Linked DNA regions of Homo sapiens: region 1 is linked to region 2. Evidence: promoter capture Hi-C in human tissues and cell types (Jung and others, 2019). All regions are on one chromosome and are shown on one strand. The core of a region is centred on a gene start or on the middle of the fragment in contact, and the rest is flanking DNA. Distances in the headings are between cores, read along the strand shown.

The links. Contacts are between HindIII fragments. The study calls those that stand out against the background at their distance.
Region 1: the fragment with the promoter of IFIT1 here is called in contact with a fragment that was not itself captured in region 2 in 1 of the 25 tissues and cell types used here (hippocampus).

Annotation. Positions count from the first base shown.
Region 1 is chr10:89,388,632-89,395,303 of GRCh38, reverse strand. IFIT1 (interferon induced protein with tetratricopeptide repeats 1) reads right to left here and starts at 2,681. Exons shown (of 2, transcript NM_001548.5): 1 at 2,587-2,681. The coding sequence starts at 2,591. It also overlaps a transcript of LIPA not described here. RefSeq lists enhancers at 1,952-2,001, 2,803-2,852, 3,083-3,132 and a silencer at 3,685-3,846. The HindIII fragment of the contact is 7,368 bases long and covers 1-6,466 here.
Region 2 is chr10:89,341,341-89,348,211 of GRCh38, reverse strand. It overlaps a transcript of LIPA not described here. Among named protein-coding and RNA genes, the nearest start is that of IFIT3, 17 kb to the right of the region's middle. The HindIII fragment of the contact is 4,561 bases long and covers 1,625-6,185 here.

The sequences.
Region 1 (6,672 bases), core at 1,432-3,931, 48 kb before region 2:
TCCTGTGGAGAGTTCTATTTGGTGGGTTTAGAGCAAGCAGGTGCAATTTTGCCAAGGGGTCATGCTGTGACTGAGAGGTGGTCACTGCAGCACATCTGCCTGGTCCATGTGGGGTGGGGGTGGGGTCAGTGGGGGCAAGTCAAATAGGTCATACCCTGCTATGCTATAGGGAAGTGGTCACCAGGAGGTAGTTATATAAAGCAGATATCTGGATCAATCACATTGAGGAACTGGAAAAAGGTGGAGAACTAGAAATTGTCTCAAGGGTGACTGAGCCCTGCTTCTGGAATGAGAAAGTCCAACTTAATATTCAAAAAGGGATGCTTAGGAAATATAAAATTATAAAAATTCAATATAACCACATAGTATGTGTTTCCATTTATATGAAATACCCACAATAGGCAAATCCATAGAGACAGAAAGCAGATTAACAGTTGCTGGGGCCTGGGGAAAGAGGCAAGTAGGGAGTGACTGCTTAATGGCTATGCAGTTTCTCCACATAGCGAGAAAAATGTTCTTGAACTAGATAGTGATGATGATTGCACAGTAGTATCATGAATATACTAAATACTACTAAATTGTATACTTTAAAGTAATTAAAATGATAAATTTTATTTTACATGTATTTTATCACAATAAAAAATCACATTGCTAACCTGAATAAAATTCAAGTTTTATATATATATATATATATATATATATATATATATATATATATATATATATTTTCCTGTAGTACATATTGACATAAACATAAAAGCAGGAAAACATAAAAGCAAATGAGTTTGCCATCTGAAATAATCACATGAGCCCCCACTGACACCCTTTGGGAAACATTGATTTAAAGGTTTAATGAAATATCATTGAATGTAGAGATCCTGATCCATATCTCAAAGCTACCACTTATTGTCTGTGTGATCTTAACATTTCTAAATCTAAGATTCCTTATTGTAAAATCAGGATCATACAGCCATGCACTGCATAATGATATTTTAGTCCACAAAGGACCACATATTTGGTGGTGGTCCTATAAGATTTTAATGCCACAATTTTGCTGTACTCTATGTTTAAATATGTTTAGATAAACAAATACTTGCCATTGTATTGCAGTTGCCTACAGTATTCAGTACAGTAACATGCTGCACAGGTTTATAGCCTAGGTGTGTAGTAGGCTATACCGTCTAGGTTTGATGTTTGCATAATGATGAAATTGCCTAACAGCTGCATTTCTCAGAGTGTATCCCCATTGTTACACGATGCATGACTGTGTAAGTACCTGCCTTATAAGTATCTTTTGAGAATTAAATGGAATAATTTACATAACACTTTTAGAAGCCAGGCTGTCACTTAATACGAATTCAAGAAGTGATAACTACCTTTATAACATTTAATATTATTATTATTTTAATTATCAGTACCAACTCCATCTGTTTACAGAGGAGGGTTCATCATAGGCCTGTAATGTGCATTTTCTGGAATTTTTACCTCTTCAAAATTTTGCCAACTGGAGCACTGAGGGGAAAATTTACAAATCAGTATTAAGTAATGGATTTTTTGTTTGTTTGTTTGTTTTTGAGACGGAGTCTCGCTCTGTTGCCCAGGCTGGAGTGCAGTGGTACAATCTCAGCTCACTGCAACTTACGCCTCCCAGGTTCAAGTGATTCTCCTGCCTCAGCCTCCCAAGTAGCTGGGACTACAGGCATGTGCCACCATGCCCAAATTTTTGTATTTTTAGTAGAGATGGGGTTTCACCATGTTGGCCAGGATGGGCTCCAACTCCTGACCTCAGGCGATCTGCTCACCTTGGCCTCCCAAAGTGCTGGGATTACAAGCATGAGCCCCCTTGCCCGGCCTAAGTAATGGTTTTTAAATCAGCTGAGAAATTCCCACATTAGGCCCTTTAGGTAAGGAAGATACGGATCTTCCCAAGCAGATGTGGATCATCTTCAGTCAAGGACGTACCAAGAGCCTAGATTTTCCAGGGAGGAGGCAATCTGTTTATCTTAAGCTCAGCCTGATTGCGAAAACCTGTTGTAAGAGGCCAGCAGTGCAGAAAGTGAGACCAGAAGCCTATGGAGGAAGGCTGTGAGCTTTTCCTACCACATCTCCACTGTATTACCCACAAGACATCAGAGAGGCTGCAAGACTGAGGCTTTCACATTCTTGTGGGTCCTGCTTTTTCTCTGTGGTAAAGAACCTGCAGAAAGCAATGCCTCTACTCAGACAAGCTGTCCATTCCTTCCCCATATCAGACAGAAGTGAATCTGATGGGAAAGAATCTCTCAGATTGGGATCATTTTCTCCCTTCCTGCAAAACTCTTTTCCCATTTCCCTCCCCTTCTTTGGGCTATAGCATGAGGTAAGCTTCCTCAAGTTCATGCTAACAAACATAAAAATGCATTAAACAATTTATGTATGTGTGAACGTGCACACACATGCATGCACACATTCAGTCCATAAGCAGATACTCAAATCGAGGAATTAGAAAACCTGACCTCACTGAGATCTAACCTGTTGAAATAGTATTTAATTACCATTTTTTCAAAAACTTTAGACATTATGGCAGAGGAGCAAAGAAATCCTTACCTCATGGTTGCTGTAAATTAGGCAGCCGTTCTGCAGGGTTTTGCTTAGCCAGGCTCCTCTGAGATCTGGCTATTCTGTCTTGTGGATTTTCAGTTACGTTTAAACCCCAAGACAGTGTTATATAAGGGAGCTAAACAGCAGCCAATGGTGTAAGCTGTGGGTGTGTCCTTGCAAGTTGGAAACCTAGGGAAACCGAAAGGGGAAAGTGAAACTAAAGCTAGCGGAATTCCTGCTGACGGGGGGGGGTGGGGAATGAAACTTTGTTTCTATTTTAAAACAGATAAACTGCAGACCTGCAACCATAGATGTTTCTAGTGCTGCAGAAACCCAATGACTGGCCAGCATTTGGAACGAGATTCACGTCCTCCCTAAAGAACATCAGTCCATTGCTGCCTATTGTGGCAGTTGGTGGCTGGATTCTGGATGAATACACAGAAAAAGGAGAATTGAAGGAGATAGCTCTATTTTCAGTTTCTATATTTAGAAGGAACCTACTATCAAATATAAAAATCTACTCTTAATTAATTGAGTAACAAGGCTTTTGGTTGCTGGTTGCTTTTTGGTTGCTTACTTTTGGTTTCAGCTTGACGGAAATAAGCAACCAATCTGGTTTAGGAATGAAGGAAAGAGACCAATACCTAGAAAGCCTTCTAACCCCTGATGACTTAGGCAGGAGGTAAAAGCAAGGAGGTATGGTTTGAAATAGAGAGCCCTCTATTGCTCCATCATGGACACTGTCATTCTGAATCAAATTCCAGTACAACCTCCACTACAGTTCATGGAATTTGAGTTTAAATAGTTAGCAACTACCTGGCACATAGAAGCATGCAAATAAGTGGTAACTATTATTATTATTATTTTCAGTCATCAAGTTAAAAATAATGATTCTTGGCTGGGTGCGGTGGCTCATGCCTGTAGTCCCAGCACTTTGGGAGGCCAAGGTGGGCGGATGACAAGGTCAGGAGATGGAGACCATCGTGGCCAACATGGTGAAACCCCCTCTCTACTAAAATACAAAAAATTAGCTGGGTGTGGTGGTGTGCACCTGTAGTCCCACCTACTCGAGAGGCTGAGGCAGGGGAATTGCTTGAACCTGGGAGGCAGAGGTTGCAGTGAGCCGAGATCACACCACTGTACTCCAGTCTGGTGACAGAGCGAGACTCCGTCTAAAAAAATAAATAAATAAAAAATAAAAAATTGTTGTCCGGGTGCATTGGCTCAGGCCTGTAAGTCCCAGTATTTTGGAAGGCAAGGCGGGAGGATCACTTGAGCCCAGGAATTGTAGACCAGCCTGGACAACATAGGGAGACCCCAACTCTACAAAAAAACTGAAAAAAAAAGCTGGGTGTGGTGGTGTGTGTCTGTGGTCTCAGCTACTCAGGAGGCTGAGGTGGGAGGCTCACTTGAGCCCAGGAGGTAGAGGCTGCAGTGAGCCATGGTCACACCACTGCACTCCAGCCTGGGCAACAGAGTGAGCCCCTGTCTCAAATAATCATAACAATATATAAAAACAATGTTTCCTTTAAAAAAACCTACCTACTTTGTCTTTTAACATAAGAAGCAGAAGAGGAGCAGGTGCAAGAGTATTTTCCTTTTGGAAACACTTAACTGGGCACACTGCCAGATCTAAACAGTTTCTGCTCAACTCCCTGCCAGACTCATCTCCCATGTCAGCTCTCACCAATTCTGTAAGCTTCCACAGAGAGTTCAACAACTAGTTAGAAAGTTCTACACAAATAAGAATTTCTGAATTAATAGGACAGGTTTTGTCTTGCACTCAGATACATGATCAGGCCATAAGCAAATGCTGAAACAGATGAATTAGAAAACATCTTTTGGGGAGCAAGATGTCTTTGGAATTCTTATGGGAAAAAATGGGTTTTCAATTTGCCAATGCACTAGATAGCATGCAGAGATATGAACAAAAAGTTTATCTTGCCATTGCTGTGAATTTGGCAGCAGTCTTGGTTCTACGGGGCTATGGCCCAGGCTGATTAGGTATTCAGAATCTTGCTTAGTGTCTCTTTGGGCTAAACAAACCCATGAGGGACACAGGATAGAACAGCATTAAGGAAAGAAAAGCCAATCGCGCGCGTGTGTGTGTGTGTTTACAGATAAAAAAGAAAATGGGAACCAGAGAGGATCAAACATTTAGAAAATGAAATTTCAGCACTAGGTTGTGAGTTCATTCCCAGGAGTCTAAGCTGGGCTCTGCAAGGGACTGACCAGTTATGATAAACTGCTTCACCTCTATGAATCTCAATTTCCTCAGCTGAGAAGTCATTTGGAATAGGTTGGCAGATCTCAACCCTCACTGCACATTAGAATCAGCCAGGTAAATCTCAAAAATAATGCTAACTATGCCCATTCCAGAACAATTGAACATATACTTAGGTACAGGCCTCTGGCTCAGTATTAAAAAGAAATCTTCAGCCTGGGCACAGTGGCTCACGCCTGTAATCCCAGCATTTTGGGAGGACAAGACGGGCGGATCACCTGAGGTTGGGAGTTCGAGACCAGCCTGACTAACATGGAGAAACCCCGTCTCTACTAAAAATACATAATTAGCCGGGCGTGGTGGCACATGCCTGTAATCCCAGCTACTCGGGAGGCTGAGGCAGGAGAATCGCTTGAACCCGGGAGGTGGAGGTTGTGGTGAGCCGAGATCGTGCCATTTCATTGCACTCCAGCCTGGGCAACAAGAGTGAAACTCCATCTCAAAAAAAAAAAAAAAAAAAAAAAGAAAGAAATCTTCAGGTGATTTTGATGTAGACCTGCGCCCTGAGCCGGGAACCAGGGCCTCAATTATCCCTAATGTCTATTGTATGTCTGAAATTCTCTGACTGAGAGATATGGGACTCAATCCCTGGACCCACTTCCTGTTCTGTGAGGCCCAGATTCAGTATTTTACGACTCAATGCCTTGTTTCCTCACCTACACAATGGGTAATGAATTCCTTAGTCTCTTCTTCATTCACAGGATGATATGGAAAAAGAATGTTATTCTGAGTGTATTTTTTAAAAATTATAATATGATAATATGGACAAATGCTAAGCCATTTCTGCTGAAGGGTCTCAAATATCCAATCACAACTTATTAAGGAATGGGCTCCATAGAAATTTCCCCTGTCTTTTCCAGGGTCATCTCTTGTAGTCTAAAATCTCTTATCAGCTTGCTAATGGCCAGGTAGAATAGGATCTAGTGATCTGGTTACCTAATGAAAAGCTGATTTCTTGTTAGAAACAAATTCAGCCCCTAGGTGGTACTACTTCCTTGGGCTTCTCTGTCTCCTCAGCAGTCCTTTCCATCAGTTTGTACTGCAGAAGTTGCTACTGTACTTGTTTTTTGGTAATCATAGTTAAATGAAGGCATTGTAGTGACATGAAAGACACACAAGATGCTTTCATGCTAGAATCATAAAAACCAAAGGCTTGACTGAATCGATCAATCCATTTCCATGTTCCTGCATCTTTGATTTTCCTCACGTTTTTCATTTAATTATAAAAGTCAGGTTTCTAGATATTTCTCTTTTTAATTTATAATTTAACATTTAACAATTGGAATATCTCTGCTAATTACATGTTATATACTCTTTTGAATGTATTCAATCACAAAGATATTTTTAGCTATAGCCTATTTTCTGAGGAATGTAATTCTCAGTGTTCTGACCACTGTATGAAAACTATTTTCTTGGCTTCTGAGATTTTTCCTAAACTACTTCCAGTCGCATCCATGGAGAGAGGACTTGGACTCCAGAAATTCTTCGTTGCAAATGATTTGATGATTTACATATCTTCTCATGAAACTTCAAGAGACCTCTCAGCCCATGATATCACTCAGCCCACCTTGACCCACAGTTTGGTTTACTGCAACCTATTCAAGTACTACTAGAATTTTTATTAGCTCATTTTTTTTTTTTTTTTACATTTCAGGCATATTTTGAAACAACTATAGACACAAGAAATTTCAGAAAAGATCCTGTGTACTTTTCATCCAAATTCCCCAAATAGTGACATCTTATATAGCTGTAGTACAATATTAAAACCAGGAAGATGACATGGATACTGTGTATATATTTTGAAGATA
Region 2 (6,871 bases), core at 2,656-5,155:
GACGGAAATCTTCCCACGCTGTCTTTCCAAACTCCTACTTAATGCTTTGAATTCAGATTGCTGAGCCTCTGAGCACAACAGACAGCACTGGGGTTGGAGGTGGGGATCCACTCTGGAACTTTCCATCCAGAAAACCTCAGATGTCTTCCTCACTCCTGTGTTTGGAACTGATAGCTTGAAGGCAGTTCCTCTGAAAGCAAGGACTTCAGTGTATTTTTTGGACTGGGATGGAAACCTTACGGTGGTAGGCCTCACCATGGAAGGCCACATGGTGGGGGTTGTAAACCTGTACTGCCTAAGGCATGTCCCGCTTGGGCTGCCATGCATGTCCTCTGGGATTGTGCTTTGTGTCTGTGTGTACCTGACTGTCATGACACTGTCTCAGCCCAGGAAGGTGATCAGGTCCACTTTACTTTCCTGGCCTCAGCTGTGATGTGCCACCAGGTTAAAAGTTTAATATAGACATGTACGGAGGAAGCTCTCTGGACTTCTAAGATAGACCTTTATAATTAATCAGATTTGTTTAAGCTGGCTAAATTCAGGATCCTTAAAAGAGGATAAATACTGAATGTATTGGAAAAAACTGAGATCAATACTGACAGAGATCCTAGAAATAATAATTTTACTATAAAGTTGCCTTGCTAAGGACTAAGGGGATGGACCATGCAGAGTTAGCATGGCAAGTTTGAAACTGTTATCTTTAGAAAGACTTGCTTGCAAGGTTGGCCCTTGGCTAACATCAGGGAACTTGGATTTTTAAGTTTTCTAGCTATTCTATAAATGATATGGGTGGCTTACTATGCTAAGACTGTTTATGCAAATGATGGAGTTTATGCTAACACTTGCTTTCCTTCTCGAAGTCTGGAATTTTGGTACATGCTAGGCAGAGGGTGCATACATGATCAGTCCCCAGTAAAACCCTTGGGCACACAGTCTAACTGGCTTCACATGTGTTGTCACAATTTGATGCTGGAGGAATTAAGCACAACCTGATGACTCTACCGGCCCTCTTGGAAACCTATACCTGATTTTCTTTGGACTTGGCCCCATGCACTTTTTGTCTGTGCTAATTTTGCTCTGTATACTTTTGTTATAATAAGGCTTAGCTGTGAGTATGACCATATGTTGAATCCTGCTCATCTTTCCAGTGAATCATCAAATCTAGGGGTAGTCTTGGAGACCCTGATGTCAATTTCCTAGAATTCTCTTTAGAAAAAAACAATGCAGCAGGCTATTAGAATATAACAGCTCCCTCTGGGAGACCAAAGGAGAGAAAAGACAGGCTAAGCCTGACTGAGTGTGGCTCTTTCTCCAACCTACGCAATTTCCTATGAGGATTTCCCTTTGTAAGATTTTCTTTCCACACAATAGCTGTCCCCAGATTCCTCAGCCATCATGCGCATGGCTGGGGATGTTGCATCATTCTTGGGCATACCTAGGACACCTGTCCATCCCCTGGTGGATCTTGGTTCAGGATTTTGTTGCTGGTATGTTCCACATAAATCAGAAGAAAAGAAGGTGCAGGGTCATCAAAAACTCTTCTGTTTATTGCGTCAGACTGGAGTCAATGTCTTTCCCTTTATAATCAAGAGGGAGCTCAGGAGGGTTGTGAAATGATATTTGGCAGGAAATCAAGGGAAGTGAATATTCTAACAGGAACCACCCTGACCTTTATGCTTTATGAGATATTCATATAAAGGGACCATGGCAAAGAGAAAATCATTTTATTCATCAAACTCTAGTTGAGCAGAGCTTGTGTTGCAGGGTGAATTATGACACTGTGAACAAAGGTCATTTTGGGGAAGATCCCAGGTTGGATGTTGAACTAGAAAAAGAATATTAGTGGGACAACTGGTAAAATTTGAACAAGACTTGTAGATTAGTTGATTATATGTTGTCACTGTTAGTTTCCTGTCTTAAAGATTATTCTATGTTTATGTAAGGTGTTAACATGATGGGAAGCTGCGTAAAGGGTATATGGGAATTCTGGGCACCATTTTTACAACTTTAAGTCTAAAATCATTTCAAATAAAAAGGGTTAAAAAGTCAAATTATAGGCTGACAATTATTTTCTCTTGGCATTTTGAAACTATTTCCCACTGTGTTTTGGTTGCTATTGAGAAGTCTGAGCTTAACCTAATACCAATTCCTTCACAGATATTTCTTCTGTTTTTTGTCGTTTTAAAAATCTTTCTGCCTCAAAGGCACTTAAAAGATACTACTATGTTTTTAGGTGACATCTGCTTGGGTGATCTTTTGTGAAATTCATGTATTTGAGGATTAGCATTTTTCATTAATTCCGAAAATTTCGGTCATTGTCTCTTCAACTATTGCCTTTCCTCCATTCCCTTTTATTTGTTCTTCTGCAACTCTGATCACATGCATTTTAACTTCCTCACTTTGTTCTCCATGTCCCTGAATATCTCTGTTGATTTTCCATCTCACTGTTTTTCTGTGCTGCATTCTGAGTAGTTTCTTCGAATCTGTCTTCTAAATCAATAAATGCTTTTCAGCTGTGTATAAATTACTTTTCAACAAATCCTTTGAGTTTCTAATTTCTATTATTTTAGTTTTTATATTTCTAAGTTTTGTTTGGTTCTTGTGCAAATATGCCTAATCAAATTTAATACACTATTGTTCCTTTATTTATTTATTTATTTATTTATTTATTTATTTATTTTTTGAGATGGAGTCTCGACCTGTCACCCAGGCTAGAGTGTAGTGGCATGATCTCAGCTCACTGCAACCTCTGTCTCTTGGGTTCAAGAGATTCTCCTGCCTCAGCCTCCTGAGTAGCTGAGATTACAGGCACCCATCACCACACCTGGCTAATTTTTGTATTTTTAGTGGAGATGGGTTTTCACCATGTTGGCCAGGCTGGTCTTGAACTCCTGACCTCAGGCAATCTGCTCACCTCAGCCTCCCAAAGTGCTGGGATTACAGGCATGAGGCACTGCGCCCGGCCTATTCCTTTGTTAAAACTTAATTTTTTCTTTCTTTATCTTGAAATTTACTAAATACACTAATACATTCTTTTTTTTTTTATTGAGACAGAGTTACTCTGTTGCCCAGGCTGGAGTGCAGTGGTGCGATCTCGGCTCACTGCAACCTCTACCTGCCAGGTTTAAGCCATTCTCCTGCCTTAGACTCCCAAGTGGCTGGGATTACAGATGCCCGCCACTATGCCTTGCTAATTTTTGTATTTTTAGTAGAAACCGGGTTCTACCATGTTGGCCAGGCTGGTCTCTAACTCCTGTCCTCAGTGATACACCTGCCTCGGCCTCCCAAAGTGTACTAAATACATTCTTTTTTATTCTCTATTCAATTACAATATCTGCAGTTTTGTTGCTCTGGCTTATCGTTTATTATCTGGCAACTTTTGCACATTGTGGCTTATTTATTTGTGTGTATTCTTTGATTTTGTATTATGACCTGATATTCCTTGGAACTTTATCAAACTTGGAAATTCTTTGAGAACTATGTAAAAAGTGTTTCCCTTTGAGGGGTGTTTTTATTTGCTTTTGTTAGGTGCATGGGAGCACTACCAAGCCAGAATTGCTTAAAATGAAATTTTCTACTTGAGGTTTTTTTTTTTTTTTCTTGCCGCATGGATAGTGAGAATTTCAGCCCAAAACAATCATGCTTCTCCACTTAAGATTAGAAATTATCAATGACTTTTTTTCCTCCCTGCTTTACTTAGGGCCAAAGCCAAAAACAGGCATGTGTAGCCCCATCATTTACGTCTGCAAGGAGTTTGTTCTCCAGTTTAACCTCTGAATGGGTCCTGGTTTTATGTGAGTTCTATGATACAATGTACCACGTGCAGGCCCCAGACTTTGTCTTCCATCTCCTTCATAATGTAATGTAGTCCATGAGAAAGTGATGTAGATCACCAACACAAATGAACACATGCTTATTCTGGTGGATTTTCACTTTCCTGTCATTTCTGGACTTCAGGGAATTCCTTACTCTCTTATAAATGCAGCTGTGCATTTAAAAAATATGTTTTGCAGATTATATAGCATTTTTCATTGTGATACACAGGCTTTTTGTTCTGTGTATATCTGGTCTACCATAATGCTTGTAAGGAAACACATTTAATCTTCTGTGAGGTATAATTTATTATTCCCAGGTTTTATGTAGGAATATCTTAGGGTCACAGAGGTTAGGTGATTTTTCCCAACACTGTAGAGATACTAAGTGGTGGAGGTGAGGTTGAAATAGGTCTAAACCCAAAGCCAAGGCACTTTTAAAAGATTAATAAAGTTTGTCGAATGATACTTGGACTAACTCCTGCCTGAATTAAGCTAGAAATTAATATAAGTTCTTTAATTCAGTTAGGAAGATCCCAAATCAGAAACAAATCATAATAAAAATTGAGATCAGGAAGCTTCCTGAGTGTAGCTCCTCATATCACTGTCCCACACATAAGTACTGCCCCATATGGCAATCGGGAGGCCCCAGGAATGCTTGCTAGGGTCAGGCCCTGCTCCTCTAAGTTAGTTGAAAGCTCCCTCCCTACTCAGTGACTGCTCTCATACTTCTTCACTGTAGCTGTTGGCTCTCAGAACATGATGCCCAAAGTATAGCGCCTCGGTGTGCTGAGTACTTTGAACTGAAAGACATTGGAAGGGCCTCCGAAGAAAGATCTCTTTGACCTTCTCCTGCCCTCTTGTCTTTCATGCTTCTTTCTCCCCTGGAGTGAACCATGGAAACTAGAATTCCTCTTCCGCAAGACAATGATAGAAACTAGAAGCCCTTTCCCCAAAGCAAGCCATAAAACTTAGGAAGGTCACTCTCTCCCTTCTCCCTTCTCATTTGAAGACCCTTAATCCAGAGGAATCCTGCCCCATACTTGCAAAGAAGAAATGCTACACAGAGAGTCCAAGAAGAATTTGAACCCAGTCTATTACCATTAGATCATACTCTTGTCCAAACACATCTCTACAGAGCTGCCCATTCTTCATGGAACCTAAGCACAAAAACAGTTTTCCCTGGATCTTTGGGTCTTCATTTCTGAAGGCTCTCATATCACATAAAACTTTGATTAAGTAAATTTGTTATGCTTTTCTCTTGTTAACTTGTCTTTTGTTATAGGAGTGTCAGCCATGACTCTTACAATGAGTAAGGAGAGGTATTACCTACCTCCTTTTACCCCTACATGCTCTTGGAGCTGATTATCACAGTTTGTAATTTTTCCACCTTCCATTCCTGCTTCTGTGTATTTTGATAAATTTTTGCAGGTCAGTAGACTTCCCATGGCAGAATATTTCCTGCTTCTCACCAGCCCTTAAGCCAATCCAAGGAAAACAAAAGAACATCATAATGCTTTGTCATATGACAAGATTACAAAAGCAGCATCCAGTGGCAGAATGCCCAACTGCTCCGGGACACAGCCAATAGCTGACTTCAGTGCTCCCCATCCCTGCTTGTCAGTGATTAGTCTAAATTGTTATCACAAGCCCAGTCTGACCAATGAATGTGAGTGAGGGGCCATTTTGATTGTCAGCTCCTGATTCTGCAGAAAACACGAAACTGAGCTGTACAAAGATGCTGATGAGGGGCTGCAGCATGCAATTCACTTCACCAGCAGTCACTAAGGTCTGATCTCTTTTCTAACCATACCTGGAAGATGGAATGCTGGACCCAGGGTATGCATAGAAAATGGGAGTTATTAGAAAAGCAGCTTTGCTTGCTTTAACCCAGGAATTGTATTTCTGGTATGTTGTTTCCTTTTAGACAATTGCCCTAAAGGTTCTTTTGTTTAAGGAGCAGGAGGATGGGGGAGGTTATTTCTGCTCTCAGCAAAAGTCTTAGAACCAGGGTCTCCTCGTTTGTAAGGAAGCAAGTAGGTCCCTGGACCTGGGCTGGGATATGATTTGTGATCAGCCAGGCAAGAGTTAAGAGTGGAAGTCTGTGCTCTCTGCCCATCTTATAATATCTTAAGGGTGATCATCTGTGGTATTCTTGAGTGGTATGTCCCATTCCATCTAGCATTTCATTAGAATTATTGTATAAAGGATGACAGGCAGAGGACACTTGACATGGGAATGCTGGACCTATTGGATGTTTATTCATTAGCTGCAGTTACCCCCCATTAGCCTTTTTTAATACAAAGTAAAAATTTAGTTGACATGTAAAAATTGTATATATTTATGGTGTATAGCATGTTTTAATATATGTATACATTGTGGAACGGCTAAATCAAATTATTTAACATATGCATTACCTCAGCTACTTACCTTTCTTTTTGTAGTGAGAACACAAAATCTACTCTCTCAGCAATTTTCACGTATGCAACATATCATTATTAACTATAGTCACCATGATGTACTATGTTAGCCTCTTAATACGGTATAATGCCTTGGCAAAACCCAAAATCCCTAGCAGGTCTGGATCTTTGAGTTTGGAAATGGTCCAAGGTGCATATACTATGTCTGTGAATACCAGAGGGCAACTCTTTATGGGTTCCTGGTGTAGGGTCTATATTCTAAATTCTGAGAGATGAACTCCTTTAGGGCCACAGTCTTTCTGCCACTTATGAACCTACAAGCAAGTTTCCAGGTGTTAAATCAGCTAGGGAATCATTTCAGAATTTATTTCAAATATTACATTAATTCCTAGGGGATAAGGAATTTAAAAGGAAAGTGTTCAAATGATCATCTTATACATTTATATACTTTTACCTTTCTGTTTACACCTTTGTGACTAGATATTACATTCATGAGTGAATTAAAAATGAACTGCAGAAGTTAATCTCAAGAGTCCATGGAGGCTATTCCCCCATGTGTTTAAGAGACCTTTGCTGTCCAGGTCTGACTTTAACCTGAACAAAATGGAGCTCACCGTGTCAGATGCTGGCAGTTTGAAA